Linked DNA regions of Homo sapiens: all the other regions are linked to region 2. Evidence: promoter capture Hi-C in 16 types of primary human blood cells and fetal thymus (Javierre and others, 2016). All regions are on one chromosome and are shown on one strand. The core of a region is centred on a gene start or on the middle of the fragment in contact, and the rest is flanking DNA. Distances in the headings are between cores, read along the strand shown. Region 1 holds the start of NRROS (negative regulator of reactive oxygen species). Region 2 holds the start of TFRC (transferrin receptor). Region 3 holds the start of PAK2 (p21 (RAC1) activated kinase 2). Region 4 holds the start of NCBP2 (nuclear cap binding protein subunit 2).

Evidence for each region. The method cuts DNA at HindIII sites, captures the fragments that hold promoters and counts their contacts. A CHiCAGO score of 5 or more calls a contact.
Region 1: the fragment with the promoter of NRROS here is called in contact with the fragment with the promoter of TFRC in region 2 in 8 of 17 cell types (fetal thymus, total CD4 T cells, megakaryocytes and 5 more); the score reaches 12.8 in fetal thymus.
Region 3: a contact is called between the fragment with the promoter of PAK2 here and the fragment with the promoter of TFRC in region 2, in 6 of 17 cell types (naive CD8 T cells, non-activated CD4 T cells, total B cells and 3 more). The highest score is 12.0, in naive CD8 T cells.
Region 4: the fragment with the promoter of NCBP2 here is called in contact with the fragment with the promoter of TFRC in region 2 in 1 of 17 cell types (fetal thymus); the score reaches 6.5 in fetal thymus.

Annotation. Positions count from the first base shown.
Region 1 is chr3:196,638,359-196,641,058 of GRCh38, reverse strand. NRROS (negative regulator of reactive oxygen species) reads right to left here and starts at 1,365. Exons shown (of 3, transcript NM_198565.3): 1 at 1,184-1,365. RefSeq lists an enhancer at 609-728 and silencers at 1,179-1,278, 1,299-1,728. The HindIII fragment of the contact is 14,541 bases long and covers 1-2,700 here.
Region 2 is chr3:196,080,744-196,083,443 of GRCh38, reverse strand. TFRC (transferrin receptor) reads left to right here and starts at 1,354. Exons shown (of 19, transcript NM_001128148.3): 1 at 1,354-1,401. RefSeq lists silencers at 1,032-1,371, 1,422-1,721 and an enhancer at 2,603-2,700. The HindIII fragment of the contact is 5,608 bases long and covers 1-2,539 here.
Region 3 is chr3:196,738,525-196,741,224 of GRCh38, reverse strand. PAK2 (p21 (RAC1) activated kinase 2) reads right to left here and starts at 1,368. Exons shown (of 15, transcript NM_002577.4): 1 at 1,068-1,368. RefSeq lists a silencer at 788-1,577. The HindIII fragment of the contact is 10,729 bases long and covers 1-2,700 here.
Region 4 is chr3:196,941,272-196,943,971 of GRCh38, reverse strand. NCBP2 (nuclear cap binding protein subunit 2) reads left to right here and starts at 1,444. Exons shown (of 4, transcript NM_007362.5): 1 at 1,444-1,546. The coding sequence starts at 1,469. It overlaps NCBP2AS2 (NCBP2 antisense 2 (head to head)), which reads right to left and starts at 1,298. Exons shown (of 1, transcript NM_001355243.2): 1 at 429-1,298. The coding sequence starts at 1,255. The coding sequence ends at 956. NCBP2-AS1 (NCBP2 antisense RNA 1) reads right to left here. Exons shown (of 3, transcript NR_046630.1): 3 at 1,438-1,579. RefSeq lists enhancers at 841-1,000, 765-1,438, 1,221-1,520, 1,571-1,710, 1,741-1,980 and 2 more. The HindIII fragment of the contact is 3,931 bases long and covers 1-2,085 here.

The sequences.
Region 1 (2,700 bases), core at 116-2,615, 560 kb before region 2:
ACAAACCTAAGAGGTGTGTGAGGAGAATAAATACGTATTGTAAATGTAAAGCCCAGCAAACCCTCAGCATCCACAGAACAGTCTGTGTGTCACAGCCGGCAGGTGAGGAGCACACAGGAAAGCATGGAGGGCCACAGACGCTGAATGTTTCTAGCACCCAGACTCCTAACGGGCTGTGCCCATCATGAAGAAGCCTCCGGTGGGGTCCCCTCAGCCCCTAGGGAAGCACAGCAGCCCCGACCAGCCCTGTCCGGAGAGGCTCCATTCCTAGGACCCCCGATCCGGCCTCCTCCAGTCGCAGCCACCAACTGGCACGTGTCCACCTTCTCTCAGAGGCAGCACAAAGCCACACCAGTGGCTCCTTACTTCTTTCCGTCTAGCTCCTGGGTACGTGGGGAAGTACGCTGACCCCTTCAGAAGCCGGCCCACATGCAGGGGCCACGAGGGCTACGGAAGAGCGTCCGAGTCTTCGTCGCCCTCCTGTTAGTCTCCCTCTGATAAGCCATGGATCTAAGTCTAGGCTAAGATCCAAGTCACAGAGCCCCAGTGAATCTCCCAAGGACAAACGTTCTGTGGGAGAAGGGGCTTTGCACATTTTCACAGCTGTATCCCCAGGGCCTTGGACAGGCCTGGCACGTGGACGGCATCTGTGATAGGTGTTGCTGTTAACCAGTCTTAGTGTCTTCATCTATGAGATAGTGGTTCTCAATCCACGTTGTGGGACAGGAAAGGAGAGCCCAGTGCTCAGCATGCTGAGTGTGCACAGAGCGGTCTCATCATATCCAGTCGCCCAGCCCAGGGAGGGAGCATCTCTGTTCCCATTTTGCAGATGAGAAAACTGAGGCTCAGAAACCTTAACTGTCTGCTCACATGCTCCCTGCAGAGCCAGGACTCAAACCCACGTCTGAATCTGAAGCCCTCGTGGTTTCCACTACGTCGCACCACCTTTCTCAGCTCTAAGTGCTCCTGGAGGGAGGTATTTCCACCTCCACCCAGAGCTGCAGCCCCCACGCCCAGCACAAAAGCGGCGGCGCTTGGACGCAGCAAGCCACAGCTTCCTCGTGAGCCCTGAGCTGCGGGCCGCGGACGCTGACCTCCTACCACCCAACCTCGCTCGAGCTCGCCCACCTGGAGAAGGGCCCCGGCTGTGCCCCGGGGACGCCCCCACGCGGGAAATACTCACGGCTCCCGCAGGCGCAGGCGGCTGCGCGGGGCGCATCGTCTCCGGGGGCTCCGGCCTCCTCGAGAGCAGCCGAACGCGGGGCTGGGCTACCTCCTTGCTGTGGGGCATCAGATTATTTTAGCACCAGCGGAAGGAACGGACGGAAACTGAAGTCACATGGAGAGCGGGCTGCTCGGCGACTCAGCACAGGCTCACTCAGACCCGGCCTCTTAGAGGGAAGCGCGGCGCGGGCGCGGGGGTGGGGCGGGCCGGGGGAGCGGGGCCCGAACACCTGCCGGCCTAGCGGCCGAGCAGCGGGGATGTTTAGACGATCTTCCAGCAATGCGACCGAGGCTCCCCCGGCTTTCTTGCGTTGGTGCCTTGGCAGGGCTGGGGGCGGCCAGCTAGGGGCCCCTTGCCTATGAGGTCTGCTGACCCAGAAACTTTGCTACGAGCTTCCAGCCAAGGACCAAGCTGAGGCCGACTTTGGGAACGGCAGCACCGTGGTAAAGAGGCACAGCCTGTCGTCTGGCAGGGTCAGCCGCTCAGCCAGTCTGTCTTCTTATCCACTCAGCCGGTCCTTGTGGATCATCTCCTTTACGGACCCTGTGTTAGAAAGAAGGGGAATTGCTTTGTCGAGGACTGTCAGAGAGTGCCAAGAGCTTCTTGATCTTAGACTGCGCGGATGGGTTTTTTTGTACCTGATGTGTACAAAGTTCCCTGCCAGCTCTTGCCAAGAATTCAAAGGAGTAAGAATAATTGATCATATAGCCATCATTGAAGCAGCGCCAGACACTGTGCTAAGAGCTTCATATGCATTACCCCAGCGCTCCTGTTCTCGAGGAACTACTGTCGTCTAGAGAAGGTGAAATATTTACAGTGCCTGCTGCGTGTGGAGTGACGTGGACCACCATAGTCGGGGGCTCAGACAAGGGGCCTCCAGTTCTGATCTCTCTCACTCCCCTTCAAATCTGAAACGTTGAACTGTCCTGCAGGATTGGGTCACCTCTCTTATAGCCTGTGATTTGGGATTGTGTGTAGCATTGTCCATCCTAAGAGAACAGGAGCCAAGTCCTTTTCACTCCAAACATCTGGCACATTGTCTCTGCTTTCTACAATATTCACTCATGGCCGGGCACAGAGGCTCAGGCTTGTAATCCTAGCATTTTGGCAGACCAAGGCAGGTGGACCGCCTGAGTGCAAGACCAGCCTGGGCAACATACTGAGACTCCATATGTACAAAAAATTTAAAACTTAGCCAGACCTGGTGGCACGCACCTGTAGTCCCAGCTATTTGGGAGGCTGAGGTGGGAGGATCACCTGAGCACAGGGAGGTTGAGGCTGCAGTGAGCCAAGATCACGCCATTGCACTTCAGCCTGTGTGATAGAGTGTGACTCCGTCTTTAAAAAAATAAAAATAATTTTAAAAATAAAATATTATCTCATAATGGTAATAACAATCACACCAATGAAAAAGCTAAATAAAGATCAAATTGTTGCAAACCCAGGTGCTTGATTCAGGCCTCTTTCTCTCTTGT
Region 2 (2,700 bases), core at 105-2,604:
AAAGGTGCAGCAATGCTCCTGCTCATATGACTTTTTTTTTTTTTTGAGATGGAATCTTGCTCTGTCGCCCAGGTTGGAGTGCAATGGCGCGATCTTGGCTCACTGCAACCTCCGCCTCTTGGGTTCAAGCGATTCTTCTGCCTCAGCCTCCTGAGTAGCTGGGATTACAGGCGCGTGCCACTATGCCTGGCTAATTTTTTTTGAAATTTTTTTAGTAGAGATGGGGTTTCACCATATTGGTCAGGCTGGTCTCGAACTCCAGACCTCGTGATCCGCTCACCTCGGCCTCCCAAAGTGTTAGGATTGCAGGCGTGAGCCACCGCGCCTGGCAACTCATATGACTTTTAAACACTTCTCTTTGGGGAGAGAGATTTTAGAGAATGGGAGTAAAGAGAAAGGCGGTGAGAATCCCAAGTACTTTCTCTATCTTAGAGCAGAAGAAATAAAGGGAAGAGTAAAAGCCCAAGGCCCAGAAACGGATTTGCTTCTTAAAGGGCTGTTCTGTGTCCCTACGGGCCTGAAGGTCAGTTTATGTGCAATGCTTTTTAAGGTATGGGTTGCTTTCTTGCATTGTAGCTACTACCTCCCTGGCCTGCTGGTTACTGACCAGAGGGAGGGAGAGGGTGTGATTGTTTGGAAAGAGTTTAAACAGTGACAAGAATTGAATTTTATTTATTTGTTATTCATTGCACAATCCAATAACAGCGATGGCAATGAAAACGAAAGTTAATCTACAATCCTATCACCCTATTAAGTCACTTGTTTCTATTTTCCCTTTTATTCCCTCATGCATTAAACATTACGCAAAGCACTCCGCTAGTCTTGGTTAAAGTGCAGCTTGTATACATTCTGAATAAAAATTTGCATTTTGCTTTTCTTTTCCTTTTTGTATTTCTGAGGCTGCAAAATACATCTTCACAAGAGTGGCTTTAATAGTTACCTAACATTCCATCCTGCACGTACATTTCAAGGCACTGCCGCAGTGCAATATCCAACATTTAAGCGTCAACGCCAACAGATTGGACCTAGCACTGCAGGGACTGGAGGTTGGTCAAGGTCAGGCGGAGGCTGCCAGGCTACCAGGGTGGAGGAAGGCGCCGAGGCAGAGGCCAGTGCGCCCATCGCGCGGCTCCTCGGGGCACCTGCTGCCTTGGCGCCTTTTCCCTTGGCCTTCGCCTCGCCCGCAGCGCCCTCCGCATAGGGCCCCGCCCGCTGCGCGCGCATCCCCGCCCCCCGGGCGATCTGTCAGAGCACCTCGCGAGCGTACGTGCCTCAGGAAGTGACGCACAGCCCCCCTGGGGGCCGGGGGCGGGGCCAGGCTATAAACCGCCGGTTAGGGGCCGCCATCCCCTCAGAGCGTCGGGATATCGGGTGGCGGCTCGGGACGGAGGACGCGCTAGTGTGAGTGCGGGCTTCTAGAACTACACCGACCCTCGTGTCCTCCCTTCATCCTGCGGGGCTGGCTGGAGCGGCCGCTCCGGTGCTGTCCAGCAGCCATAGGGAGCCGCACGGGGAGCGGGAAAGCGGTCGCGGCCCCAGGCGGGGCGGCCGGGATGGAGCGGGGCCGCGAGCCTGTGGGGAAGGGGCTGTGGCGGCGCCTCGAGCGGCTGCAGGTACACGGGGTCGGCGGCTGTGCGCAGAGGCGTCCCTGCGCCTCTCGTCCCTTCGCCTCTCGTCCCTTCCCTTCTCTCTGCCTTCTTGCCCGCCTCCTCGGTCACAGAGCGACGAATGACGAGACCAGGTGTACCCCCACTGTCGCTCTCAGCCCCGGGGACTTCGGGTCCTCGCCCTTGAAGGCCGCAGGCCCTAGTGCGCCGGCTCCGGGCTGCGGGTCCGGGAGCGCGGGCGCAGCCAAGGTGCAGCTGCGCGGCGTGCGGCGCCGGGGGAACACGTGGCTGCTCCAGGAAGTCGCCCCAGGGAACGGCTGGGATTCGTGGGTGACCTTGGGCTCCTAAACCTTCGGTTCCCCGGGCTCCGGGCGGGCCCCGTTCTCACTGCGGAAAGGGACAAAGCTGTCCCCGATTCGGTTACTAGCGTGTTACAGGCATTAATTAGATACGGGTTTCTGTAAACTTACCCTTCGGCTCTGGTACAACCTGATCTTGCCATGCTCTGCCTGTTCGCCTTGTGTGTGGATTCTGTTTTCTCAAGGCAGAATCCGACTGAACGCCGCAGGTGTTCACATTAAGAATATTGCTAGCAGTTCTCACTACAAGACGGGAGCCATAGGAGTGACTTATTTGTGAAAGATACTTGGAGATTAGCGGTGTGGTCAGAGGGCTGTGCTGGATTGATGGGCGCCGGAGAGGCCGATTGTGTCACATTCTGCTGGACAGTTCTTTTAAGGTTGGGAGGGTGGGTAAGAAAATACATTCTGATTCGGCTCTTTTCGGATAACGCTTTCCCTCTGCTTACTGCTTGTAGAGACCTCACTTACCCGGGGGACTGGATTCTGCAGCTTTTTCCATTTTCTTCCCCGTTGATAAGAGGATTAAAGTAGGAAATTGTATTTGGCTACCCCATGCTTATATGCTAAGCTTACTGTGAAAATTAAGGTTAGGCTGTCTAGAGTACTTGTGGACCCTGCTGGTTCCCCCCGCCCCCCGGCCCTGAATTTTGGGTTACAATATGCTTCTCAAGAAAACTCAGAGTTAAGATAATTTTTGTCATCGATTTTGCAAGGTTATATATAGCATAGCA
Region 3 (2,700 bases), core at 119-2,618, 660 kb before region 2:
AGCGGAAGAGTCGAACACAGCAGGGGAAAAAACGTGACGTGCACAACCTTGATCCAAAACACAGCTCTTCGTAGTTTAATTTTAGGCCTAACCATTTTGTCTTTTTATAAAGGTTAAAAAAGAAAACAAAGAAAGGACACATCGCCTGTAACGCAGAAGTGAGATAATGATATCAACCGGAGTTCGTTATTTATCAAGGGACAACAAATCACGCTCACACTGCCCAGGGAGAGTACTACTAAAATTAAGATACAAGGATGGGTACAACCTCACACCCACTGACGATGACACGCTTCTGTTCTTGGATGACTTATCTTTAAAGAATTAGTTAAAAGGTTGAGTGGCAACGTTTTGTGTTTGTGCGTGCGTGTGTTTCCAAGAGAGCCAAACATGGTGAAAAACCAATCTTAACTTCACCTAAGTTATCTAAAGAAGCAAATTTCACCCCTAGGCTGAAGCTCAAACAGGAGCGAGGAGAAGCTCCGAAAGATCAGTTCGTAAGCGGTGGCCCTCAAGCGCCCGGGACGCTCTACGTTTTTACCAATGTGGAATGTGGAAAAGAGGTTACAGGCTGGAGCTGAGAAAACAGTCAAGCTACTCGCGACAATATTCCTGAGCAGTGAAACGGGTGAACAGAGAGCGAGCAAGCAGGGGCTGAGAATCAGTGAGAGGAAAAATCAAGGAACAAAACCGGAGAGTCTGGTCCAGCATTAAGAAAACGGAGCAAAGGAAGAGGGTGAAACGCGAGGGGAGGGAAGACCGAGAGTCGGCAGAGACCGTGGTGCCGCGAGGTTCAGAGCAGGGCTGGGTCCAGGAAGAGTCAGACCTCCGCAGCCCAGCGAGCTTCCCATTTCTGGCTAAAGCCAGCGAAGAAAACGGCCCTGGGGAGCAGACAATGAGCCACCGCCCCAGGAGCTGCGGCTCCCAGCACGCAGGTGGCGGCTCCCCGGCCCCGCGCGGGGCAGGTCGGCCGTCCCGGGCCGCTCCCGCCCGCCAGGCCACGGAGAAGGAAGGAGGAGGAAGAGACCCGGCCTGCGTCCCGCGCCGGCCGGCCTGTGTGCACTTACCCCGGGCAAGGCAAGGTCCCCGCCCCAGCGAGGCGCCTCGGTCAGAGCTCCCGGCGGGCTGCGGAGCCGCCCCGGGCTAGCGCGCGGTGCGGGGAGGGGAGGGGAGGGAAGGGGAAGCGGGGCGGGAAGAGACGCCGCGCTGGAGCAGCCGCTGCTACCGCTAGGCCCAGCGGCGGCGGAGTCCTGCGCACGCCAGGGAGGGGAGGGGAGGGAGCCTTCGGCAATGGCGACGGCCCGGGCCGGAGGGGAAGCGGAACAACCGCCGCCGCTGCGCGTGGCCACAACCCTGGGGGAGGAAGACGGCGGGGAGCGGGGCGGGGCGGGGCCAGAACCCAGAACCCCTCCCGCCCCGAAGCCGGAGCTCCCCGGGGCGGAGACGAGCGCCACCTCCCATGGGCAGGCCCGCGCGGGGGCCGCTGGGAGTAGTAGTTCGGTGATAGACGTTGCTTTTATTCCTTGGGTAGTCTTTGTATTGAGAGGAGCAGCCAGTCCCTCATTTAATTCAGCATTGTCTCCAAGCAGGTCTCTGCCGACGGAAGACGCTGACAGACGATTGCTGTTATACACATCTGCTCCGCGACATTTGTTTCTGGGAATTCATCCGTTATCCATTTTGCTTTTTTGCTTACAAATTCTTAACTAAAATTTTGCTGCTAAATTAAGTATCACCTCCTTGCAAATTAAGACTTCCCTATTTTATCCACGGAGGAGTTCATCAATGTTTCACTTATTCTACAAATATTTGAGTGTCTGATATGGACTAGACACTGTTAAGCATCAGAAATACAAGGGTGGTTCAGGTGCGGTGGCTCACGCCTGTAATCCCAGCACTTTGGGAGGCTGAGGCAGGCGGATCACCTGAGGTCGGGAGTTCGAGACCAGCCTGGCCAACACGATGAAACCCCGTTTCTACTAAAAATACAAAAATTAGCTGGGCATGGTGGCACGCATCTGTAGTCCCAGCTACTCGGGAGACTAAGGCAGGAGAATCGCTTGAACCCAGGAGGAGGAGGCTGCAGTGAGCCAAGATCGGGCCACTGCACTTCAGCGTGACAGAGTCGTCATGCCTCAAAAACAAAACAAAAAACACAAAAGAAATGCAAGGGTGAACACGATTCACCAAGCCTTTGTGGAGCTTATATGAGGACGCAGTAATTAAAGTAGTCACACCTGGTATAAGAAAAAACTTGGCGAGGTTACTTTGGATAGGGTGGTCGGAGAAGGCCTCGTTAAGGAGGTGACACTTAAGGCAAGAACAGAAAGAGACAGCAATAAGAAGCACCCAGAGAAAAGCAATACAGGCAGGAGAAGAAAGAAAAGGGCTTGCTACGGTCAGTTAAGAAGGCCTGTGTAGCTGGGGCCTAGAACAAGAAGGCGGTACTATTAAGAAAACACTACAGCAGACAAGATTCAGGTCATGAAAGATCCTGAATGCCATGGTAAAAAGTCTATATTACAAAAAACCATTAAAAGGCTTTTTTAAGCAGGAAAGCGATGTTACCTGGCTTACACTTTAAGATCACTAGACTGCAATGTGGATAATGGAGTATAGAGATGCAAGAATAGAAGGGAAATAAAGTAGGAAGGCAGTGGAAAGAAAGAGGAATTGTGCTTCTCTATCAATGTAGAGCAA
Region 4 (2,700 bases), core at 195-2,694, 860 kb before region 2:
GGCTCATGCGATCCTCCTGCCTCTGCAGTGGCTGGGATAAGACACAACTGCCACCAGGCCCTGCCCCTAGGCAGTAGTCTTAATGCCTGATGGTGGGGGGTTGGGGAAGGAAGGGGTTGAGTATCAGGGTAAATGCTGCAGAGCTGTGTTAAGGACTTAGGCCCTGGAGTCAAATGCCTCTGCTCACATCCCACTCTGCAAGACTTTGGGCAACTTAAGCAGCAGCCTCTGTTTCCATCGCAGTGGCTCTTGCCTATAATCCCAGCACTTTGGGAGGCTGAGGCGGGAGGATCACTTGCGCCCAAGAGTTCGAGACCACCCCATCTCTACAAAAAAATCCAAAAAGTAATCTGCTTCCTCATGTGAATGTCGTTGTAAGGAGTGAGATAACACATAGAGTGCAATGAGCAAGTCCCAGCACAGAAGACTCATTTCATAAAATACGTGTTTATTATTACCATAGGCCTACAGTCCCCGGTATTCTTAACACATCTTGCCTGAGAAGTATCACACTCATGCCTATCAACCAGCTCACACATTTAATCAAAGGAATTTGGCAGCTGTAGGGTTGTCTTTTCATCCATATCGTCCCTGGAATTAACTGTCCTGCTATACCAGTCAGATTGAGCAGCATCTGTCAAGAGTTTCAGTCCCACTTGCAGAGGAAAGGCTCTCTGGCTTCGGTCCGTGGCTCTCCGTAGGTGCCGTGTCTGGACCCAGCCTACCTTCATCTCTGTTAGGCTTAGGGCTGTCTCCACACTGTGTCTTGTCCAATCACAAGACTTCAACGGAGCGGGCGGTCTGGCCTAGGCTCTTATGCGTGGGATGTCTGCAGGCCAACAATCCCAGTCGGGATTCGAAGCCGCGCGCAGTGCCCGGAATGACCCCTCCACATTGATGCCACTGTAGAGCCCGGAAGGAAAAGCAAGCGGCCTCGGCCCCGCACAGCCCAGGATTAAATGTTTGCGCCAGGGCCCCTCTGGCTACCTGGTGGTGGCCCCGAGCGGCCTCGGAGGCCGCGGCGTAGCTCCTGGGTGAAGGCGTCTCTAAATCGCTCAGCGCGGCGGCACAGGGAGCCCACGGGCCCAGCCGCGAGGTCCTGCAGGCGGCGGGCCGCGTCCTGGCCCCGCAGCTGGGCCTGCAGCAGTGCGAAGGCCGTGAGCTGCGCCGCACGTCGGATAGGCCGCGACTCTGACAGACGTTCCACCAGCTGCGGGCTGTGCAGCAGGGCGGCCAGCAGCCGCCGCAGCACCATCTTCTCCAAGCGCCCGGAACCCGACCTCGCCGCCCTCGTCTTCCGCCCCGCGGCGCCCGACCCGGACGTCTATGCCCCCGCGCAGCTTGATGACGACACGCCGCCCTCGGATTGGGTCCAATGAGATGCTCGCCTCCGCGCGTTTCCGCTTCCGCCATCGCGGACGCAGCCTCGTGCCGGGAGTCGCCGCATTGTGGTCCGCTTCTCTGCACTATGTCGGGTGGCCTCCTGAAGGCGCTGCGCAGCGACTCCTACGTGGAGCTGAGCCAGTACCGGGACCAGCACTTCCGGGTGAGGGAGGCCGGGCCGCGAGACGGGAAGGCCCTGGGCAAGAACGCTGAGAAACGGTTTGCTCTTGTCTCATTGTGTCGCCTCCCATTCAGCTGAAATCCGCAAACGCCAAGTGGGGCCCCGGTGCCTGCTGGCGAGGCAGGGAATGGGTGCTGGAAGGGCGCTTGGATATCACTGAAGCCACTTGCTCTGGAAGACGGGGAACTGGAGGCTCGCTTATCCCATTCGCTCGCAGCCGCTCCCTGTACCCCAGCCAGTGCCGAGAGGTTTGAGCGGTGGTGGTGGTGGCGGCTCCCGTTTCCACGGTTGTGCCTCCGCAGACGACTACGTAGCAAGGGGGAGGGGTGCCCTTCTCTCTCCCAGAGTAGGCAGAGGCGCCTTCCTGATGCAGATGCGGGGCTTTTTGCTTTGTTTTTTAAATCGGCGAAGCAGTGCCCTTCGGCGATTCGGGCCCCTTCTCTGGGAGGATGGTGTTACGGAAGCTGTACGCGGTGCGTGGGAGACACAAGTGGAGTCCTCACTCCGCCCTCGGGGAAGCTTCGGAGTGGGGAGGTGGACCCGCCAAGCTCGGCACTTTGAGGGTGTTCGGATGTAAAGATCGGAGAATTGCTGGATTTCAGAAGAGGGAAATTTTTAGTCCGGACTATATCACAGTATATTTTGTGGAAAAAGGGGAGGCAGCAGATATTCAAAGTAGACTTTTCAGTATCAGCGGAGGTAGGGATGGAATACGGTTGGGGGTTGGCGGGGCGGGACTCATTAACCCAATTATTTAGTAAACGTTTATCGAGTGCTGTCGCCAAATCCTTGTGCTAAACCCTAGAGGGAGAGGGAAGACAGTTTCTGCGCTCTGCGAGCTCATAATCCCCTGTAGTGAGGATTCAGAAAAGGGAAAAATCCCCTTGTGACTGGGAAAGGAAGGGGCGCATATAGCAGAGGGTAAGTGTGGAGAATGTGTGAAATGTGTTACTAGAGTAGGGAAAGGGAAATTTTGTTTGACGCTAAATTAGGGAAGCTCTTAGATTTATTTAGTCAAGGCTGGGAACGGTGGCTCACGCCTGTAATCCCAGCACTTTGGGAGGCTGAGGCGGGTGGATCACGAGGTTAGGAGTTCAAGACTAGCCTGGCCAAGATGGTGAAACCCCGTCTTACTA